Regions from separate parts of the Homo sapiens genome. Here region 1 is linked to region 2. The links are contacts of gene promoters, found by promoter capture Hi-C in human tissues and cell types (Jung and others, 2019). All regions are on one chromosome and are shown on one strand. Each heading gives the region's core, a stretch centred on a gene start or on the middle of the fragment in contact. The rest is flanking DNA. Distances are from core to core; before and after follow the strand shown. Region 1 overlaps CDH22 (cadherin 22). Region 2 holds the start of CDH22 (cadherin 22).

Evidence for each region. Contacts are between HindIII fragments. The study calls those that stand out against the background at their distance.
Region 1: a fragment that was not itself captured here is called in contact with the fragment with the promoter of CDH22 in region 2 in 1 of the 25 tissues and cell types used here (liver).

Annotation. Positions count from the first base shown.
Region 1 is chr20:46,263,797-46,267,754 of GRCh38, reverse strand. The region is part of intron 1 of CDH22 (cadherin 22); the gene reads left to right. Among named protein-coding and RNA genes, the nearest start is that of CDH22, 43 kb to the left of the region's middle. The HindIII fragment of the contact is 4,356 bases long and covers 127-3,958 here.
Region 2 is chr20:46,307,050-46,310,929 of GRCh38, reverse strand. CDH22 (cadherin 22) reads left to right here and starts at 2,432. Exons shown (of 12, transcript NM_021248.3): 1 at 2,432-2,675. The HindIII fragment of the contact is 29,361 bases long and covers 1-3,880 here.

The DNA.
Region 1 (3,958 bases), core at 1,055-3,554, 43 kb after region 2:
ACTGGCAACTTCTTTTACAGATGGAAAGACTGAGGTGCAGGAAGGGAAGAAAATCATGCAAGGTCACACATGGTGTCAGGGGCTCCCAGCCCAATAGTCCAACTCCTCCATTTCACAGATGGAAAGACTGAGGTTGGGAGAGTTGGGAGACGCCATTCAGCTGCAGAGCTGAGTCAGGGAATGGAAGCAGAGTATGCTGGGGCGGAAGCTCACTGCTTTGGAGTTGGCCCCTAGCCATGTGGTTCTCAGCAAGCCACCTCTCTTCTTGACACTTTTCTTTGTTCATTGGTAACTGGAGAGACTAAAGCCCATCTCAGGAGGATGGTGTGACAATTGCCTAAAATAAGAGCAATAAGAGCTCACACTGGTTGTGTGTGGGAATGAGCCCTTCACACATACCTTGTTGAATCACTGTGAAAACATGTAGCAGTTGGCTCGGGGCTGGGCACACAGTTAGTGTACCATGCTTGATCTCTGTTCCACAACTTGTGGACCACCTGCTCCAGAGGCTCTCAGGCCAACATCAGAATCTGCTAGAAGCTATCCCAGACTGAGGACAGGCTCTGGCACCAGACTTTCCTAGTTCAAGTCCTGGCTTCTCCCACTTCCTGGCTGTAATCTTGGACAAGTGACTTCACCTCTCGGTGCTCCAGTTTCTTTATCTGTAATATAACAATTATAATAAAACAGATGTGGCACAGATGAAGCAAGATAACCTATGGAGTGTGCTTAGCAGAGTGGTCAAAAAGTACAGCCTCTTCTTTTTGCTCATCAAAGGCACAGTCTCTGGCACATAGAAAGCACCCTATTAGAACATGTGGAAAAAGGCAAAAAAAAAAAAAAGCACCCTATAGACCTTCCTGTTAGTACTATTATCATCCTTACTGAATCTGGGGCTCCAGAGGCCTGGCAATGAGATTTTGAACAAGCCTCACCTTGCTATACACCGGCATGACCCTGTCCTCTGATGAGCCCTGAGAACTGCAGTTTGACCTTCCATTGTATAGAAGTCCAGGGCAGGGACTTGCCCAAGGTCACCCAGTGTTATGGGATCAAAGCCAAGCTCCAACCTACTCCACTTGCCGTCCAGCCTAGAGAGCTTTCTCCCGTACCACAAAGGGACAGATTCTTTAATGTCATCTGCTCAGGTTACAATAAAAATTAACTATCCCGAATATGTGCATCATCAAAGCAGCTCCAAGACAGAGAAGGGGCTAAGGGAGACTGGAATGAAATGTGTCACACATGCTCCTGGGGTCTCCAAACCTGCTCTGTAATGGCTCCTAGGAGGCCCCAGACACACACCAGCCTGCAGGTCCTTCTCTGCCTTGGTGAGACACAATGCTAGGCACAGGACGGGTGCTCCACAAGACCTTCAATGAGCAGAGCTGAGGCTGAGGCTTGGCCCCTGAATGACCCAGGTCCCAGTCCTCTCTCCCTGCACAGCTGTGCATCCTACGGACAGCCATAAGGCCACCTGGGGCCACCTCAGTTCCCACCCCAGCCCAGAGTAGGTGAGAGTGGGAAGAGAGGCCTTCTCCCCAAGGCTGCTACAGTAGAGACAGGATGTGTGAGGACAAAGGACCCTGCTGTACCATTCCCCCAGTCTCTGCCCCAGGAATCCTCTAAAACAGATAAACTTTAATAGACTCAGGTCCACAGAGAGCCTCCCTCTGGCTGGAGCCACATACCCAAAATCTGGGTAGGGAGAGAGAGAGAGAGAGACCCAGAGGGGGCATCTGGGCCCCCAGTAGTTCAGTAGGATGGAGGAGCTGGGATCAATGTGTGTGTGTGTGTGTGTGTGTGTGTATCTGTGTGAATGTGTGCACAGCTCCCAGATGTAGCAGACAAAACAATAGAACAACAGGGGGCAGGCAACCAGGAGGTGGAACAGGAAGAGAAGTAGGAAGAAGAAGAGAAGAAGGTGGAAGGGAAGGAAAAGTGGGAGAAAAGGGGAAAGAAGAAGAAAAAGGAGAATGGATGAATGGATTTCTAAGTCACGGTATATTCATGCAATGGAGTACTATGCAGCAGTGAAAAGGAACACATGCAAGAACAAAGACGAATCTCACAAACATAATGCTGAGAAAAAGAAGCAAGATGCAAAAGACCATTCAGTATGATATACAAGCTCAAAAACAAGCAAGACTAAACTAAGATGGTCAGAAATGCATAGTTGGGAGACAAACAATAAGGAAATGCAAGGAACTAGTCATAAAAGCCAGGACAGAAGGAACCAATGGGTTATGTTCAAGAATGGGACACACAGTAGGAGCTTCTGAGGAGGGGGCTATTTTCAGTATTTTGCTCAAAGTGTGGATTCATGGGTTCATTTTATGACTTTTCGTTAAACTATGCATGTATGATTTGTGCAGCTTTCATTATCAAGGCTGAATTGTACAATTTTAATTAATTATGAAAAGTAGAGAAAGAGGAGGAGGAAGAGGGGAAAAGAGCAAGGAGGAGGCGGTTTGGAGGGAGAAGGGCCTCCTGGGACTCTGCTTGGCTGGCACCATGGCAGGGCCCTGCCCCCATCCGGACGCGTTTGTAAAATGGAATAAATATTGACACGGCCAGGATGGTATTCAATTTGTCCTGATCACTGGGCTGCAGTGAGTTCTGACAGGGCGCGGTGTAAAACAGCAGCTCGGGATGTAATTTCTACTGTCAACATGATGTACAGCACGGCTCTGCCGGTGGCACCGGCACACGGGCAGGGTGGGGGCAGGGCAGGGAGACAGGTGCAGGCCAGGGGCACCTGAGGTGGAGGGTTCTAACAGGTTGCCCCTGGGCAGGTGAGCAGTGCTAGCCAAGGAGTCTGCATGTGTACACGGTATGTGTGTGTGCGCACGGTGTGTGTGCGCGCACGGTGTGTGTGTGTGCGCACGGTGTGTGTGTGTGCACGGTGTGTGTGTGTGCATGGTGTGTGTGTGTGTGTGCATACTCATACATGTTCATAATTTGCACGGGAGGTCAGGCCTTAAGGAGGGACTCAGGCCTGGGTTAAGTCACGTCAAGTAGCGTGGGGGAAGGACATGGTTCATGCTGAGAGCCAAACGCAGGCCTGTCCTTTCCAGCAGCCACTGAGCACCTCCCGGCCCATCCTCATTTCCCTCCCACTGCCAGAGCCTGTTTGAATTCCAGATCCTCCACTAACTAGCTGTGTGACCTTGGGCAAGTCCCTCAACCTCTCTGAGCCACTGTTCCTGATTCTGTAATAGAAATTTTAAAGACAGCTATTGTGAGGATTCAATCAGATCATTGATATAAAGTGCCCTGCATGGAACTCAGTGTTACCTCTTATTATTAGCTAATTGGATGGCACCATGCCTGGCACATAGTAAAAGCGCTATAAATGTTATCTATCATTATTCTCACTGACTCAGAATCAGCTCAAGGTATGCAACTGGCCTCTCTTTCTTCCTTCCCTGTGCCTGTGATCTGCCAAGGTTGTTCCCCAAAGGAACAAAGCTTGGGACACATTCCACTGTGTCCCTTTGCCTAGCCTTCTCATTGGAGTGAAGTGAGATTGTGAAGGGGATAATGATAACTTACTTTATGGGGTTATTGTGAGGAATAAATAAGCTAATGCACATAAAGTGCTAGAACAGTGCCTGGCTCTTAGTAGGTGATCAAAAAACGTCAGCTAAAACAAAAATAAAATCCGGGGAGTCACTCTTGATGTCTCTCCCTCCCTCGTCCGCTACATCTGATTCATCACCAACTCTGATCCATTTTGCTTCCTAAATATTCCAAATCTGTTACCTTTTCTCCATCCCACGCCAGCCTCCCTGGTCCGAGCCACCACCACCCTCTTCCTCAGATGCTGCCACCACCTTCTCACGGGTCCCCAGTTCCAGCCTTGTACATCCACAGTTGTTCTTCCAGCAACAAGCACAGTGACCTCTTTTAAGACACAACCTTGAACACATCTCCTCCGCCAAAAGCTCTTCAGTGC
Region 2 (3,880 bases), core at 1,183-3,682:
ACAGTCTGCATGGGGCAGAACTGCTCTCAGAGCCCAGGCCTGCCCAGTTCTTCCTCTGTCACACTACACTGCCTCTTGCTGCCCCTGCCACACTGCAGCAGGAGTCCCAGCTTACCTTCTCCCAGACCAGAGTGAGAGGTCTGACCCAGGCCCAATGCGTCAACCTGATCTCTCTACTTGCCGTCTGAATGATCTTGCTATTTCAACACCGTGTCTCAGTTTCCTCATTTGTAAAATGGGCTAATACTAGTATCTGATTATTGTGAGGACTTAAAAGCAGAACTATGGCACACAGCAAGTGCTCAATAAACATTCAATGTGTTCTCAGAGCCTAGCCATAGTGCTCACAACAGAGTGGACACTCAGAGAAAGTTTGTTGAAGGAAGGAAGAATTGGAAATAACGGTAGAATGAGCCTGAAAATAGGAAACATTGGGATAGGAAAACCTGAGGGTCTAATAAAGAGTCATGGGGAGCTGGGTGCAGCAGCACATGCCTGGTGTCCCAGTTACTTGAGAGGCTGAGGCAGAATGATCACCTGAGTCCAGGAATCCAGCCTGGACAACATAGTGAGACCCCCATCTCAAAAAAAAATAAAAATAAAAGAGAGAGAAGAGAGAGACCAGAGCAAAAGAGAAAGATGTGACAACAGTTCATTCAATAACATTTATTGAGCACCTACTGTGTGCATGCAGATGTGACAGCAACAGTGTCCCAGACCAAAACAACCTGTGGACAACTAAGTAGGTCTGACTCCAGAGATGAACAGCACACACCAGAGCCTGGAGGAAGAGGCAAAGAAGGAATGGGAACTGGAGCAAACAGCAAAAGTGAGTCAGAGCGGGAGGAGAGAACCAAAAGTGAAGAGATGCACCTGGAAGGCTGGCCTCTGGTCTCTGAAAGCATGAAAGAGTGGAGGCTAAGAATAGAGAGGAGAGGGGAAGAGAGAGATGGAGAAAAGGAAGGCGATAGAAAGGCAAGGCTGGAAGAGATCAATGAAGGGAAATAAACCAAGAGAAGGACGTAGGGGAGGGAACAGACTGGCACAGTGGAGAATACATCTCAAAATAAATAAATGAATGATGGAGTTTAGTAGGAGGGGCCAGAGGGGCAGCCAGCAGGAGAGGTGATTCCAATCATCAGCAAGACGGACTAGGGTGTGGAGATGGAGATGGAAATTGGGGAAGGAGGCGAGGAGGAGAGAAGGATAGGGGCGAGGTAGAGCTGGGGGTCCTGGAGGGCCCTGCCCCCTCTTTGCCATGAACTTCAGCAGCTGCTTGTGGGTGATTAAATGGCTGGTCATTGGCAGCTTGGCGGGACAGAGGTCTGCAGCTGTCCAGTCTCCTGTTATCCTTCACTCACCTATCTGGAAGCCATGGGGAATAGGGGGGCGGGCAACTCCTAAGGGGACCTACAACCCAAGACAAAGGGTGGGTCTATGGGAGTCACTGGTCCTATCCTACCATCAACGACCTCATATTGGGAACTCAGGAGTGGGGTGGGAGGGTCTCCTCCATTAGGCCTCATCCCAGAGAGATGAAGTAGTAAGGAGAGCCAGGCAGCCAGGAGAAAGAAACAGGGCCAGGTGGAAAAAACATCAGGGAGCAGACCAGCCGGATTTTTAAAAGAACGGAAAACCCAACCAGCAAGGAGTTTCTGGGCAGTGGGAAGATTTTATTGGGAGACTTCTCCAGGTCAAGGTGGCACCAAGTTAAGGATGGAGGTGTCTTGTTTTGCCTGCTTACTTTGTTGGTTGCAAGGATGTCCAGCGGGACTCTCCAGAGGAAAAGCCCACAAGTTTCTCTCCCGGGGACACCCGACCTCCCACCTGCCTGGAGACTCAGCCCTGGGCACCTGGTCGGTGTCCACCTCAATGCACAGTGACTGTTTCTGAACTGGCAGATCTGGTCTGTGCAAGGTGCCTTTCTGGGCAGCAAGCCGGGGCGGCCACTGTTCGAGAAGCCTGCTCCTACCCTGGCCTGCGCCCCTGCTCCTCTGAAGGCGGCCTCCCGCAGTAGTCAGGGGGCGGAAATGGGAAGCCCTATTCGCAGTAAAATCAGGTGGGGAAATAGGCTCTGGTCTCAAACTGCGGCCACCTGGGGAGCTGCCAGGCGAGGAGGTAGATGGTCCCCCTCCTGGGGGCGCTCCCTTCGCGCGGATCTGGGGTTGGAGGAGGGAGGGGCACTGTCCCCTGGGGGGTTTCCTGGGACTGGGCCGCCCGAGAGAGGGAAAGGCTGTCCCCTCCTGGTGTAGGAGGGGCGCGATCCGGGGGGCGGGGGCTGGGGTTCCCCGGCTGCGGGGGTCCGGGCCGGCGGCCGCCTGCGGCTTGGCGCTGCGCGGCTCCTGCCCGGCGGGCCCTGCATTCTCCGAGTCTCCACCAGAGGCTGCGGGAGGAAGGAAGGGATCCGTCCCTTGCACACTTCCCCCCAGTCAGACACGCACACTCCCTCGCTCCCGCTCGCTCGCTCACTCCCTCGCTCTCTCGCTCTCTCGCTCTCTCGCTCACACACACGCGCGCACACGCCGCCGCGGCTCCCCCTCTCGCTCCCGCTCTCCCTCCGGCTCCTGCGGGCGGCCGCGGGGCTCCGGACTCGCCCGCTGCCCGCGCCGGGGCTCCCGCCCCACGCAGCGTCCCGAGGCGGCAGGACTAGGGGGAGCCCCGGGCCGCTCCCCGAGGTAAGAGCGCGGGGTGCCGCGGGAGGAGCGGCCGGATCGCCGCCGAGGGGAGGCTGCCCGGCAGGGAGGGAGCCCCCTGGCCGGCGGGAGCGGCCGGGCAGGCGGCGCGGGGGGCGAGCCTCCAGCCGCAGGAGGAGCCGGGGTGCCTGCGCCCGGCCCTGCGCGCCCCCTCCTCTCGGCCGGGAGGGCGGGGAGGGAGTTTCCCACGTCCAAACTTTCCCCGGCGCGGAGCCGAGCCGCCTCTCGGCCCGAAGCCCGCAGCTCCCACCCGTCCCCACAACCTCGTCCGCCGCGCGCCCGGGAGCCTCCGGGACCCCCGCGGGCCGAGGGGTGGCAGCGCCAGGGGCCGAGCCGGCGCGCCAAAAGGGGCTGGGAAGGTGGCGCACAGCCCTGACGCGAGGGCTGGGACCCAGGCGTTCCCGGTCCCCCAACCCTGCTAGCGGGGCTCGGCTCCCCGGCCCCTCCCAGAGGCGGGGTCCGGGGCCGGGAAAATACCGCACGGCGCGAGCGTGTGCGCGCGGTGTGTGTGTGCGAGGTCGTGCCGCGTCCGGGGACACCCGGAGGCTGACTCCAGCCGCGGCGACACGCACGGTTCTGGTCCCCTCTGAGCCGGGGAGGCGGCCCACAGGGACCCCTGCCGGCCCCACCGGCGCGACCCCCCCTGCCCTATGGCCGTCGGGCGGGCTGGCGGTGAGCGAGAGCCAGCGCTGCTCTCTTCCTTAGGACCCGACTCCGGAGACACCGTCCCCGCTGGGGAAGAAGGACGGGGCCCCCGACAGCCTAACGTCCAAAGAGAGCGCCACTTAGGGCTAACCCTCGGGGGCCGCGGCGTTTACTGTGAAGAGTGGACTGCGTGGGCGCGCGGGGTGCCGGGCAGCCCTGGGTGGGCACAGTGTGGACCCGTCTCGCTCGCGCCTCCCCGCTGCCTCTTCTCTGGCAACGTCGGGCCCTGTCCCAGGCGGGGCTGCAGAGGGTAGGGCTGATCCAGGATCCCCCGAGGTCTCCCCGAGGTGCAGGGCACCCCCTTGTGGCGGGCAGAGAAGCTGCTGTTTGAAGCTGCTCAGGTCTTCCGAGGTGCTCGCTCCTTGGAACCTCTTCTCTCCAAACCCTTCGGGCGTCGCCAGGGTTGCGCATGCCAGCTTCTTTTTCCGTGGGGCTGATTCCAGCACTCCCCAGGTTTCTGGGGCTGGCCGAGGTGCCCCCAG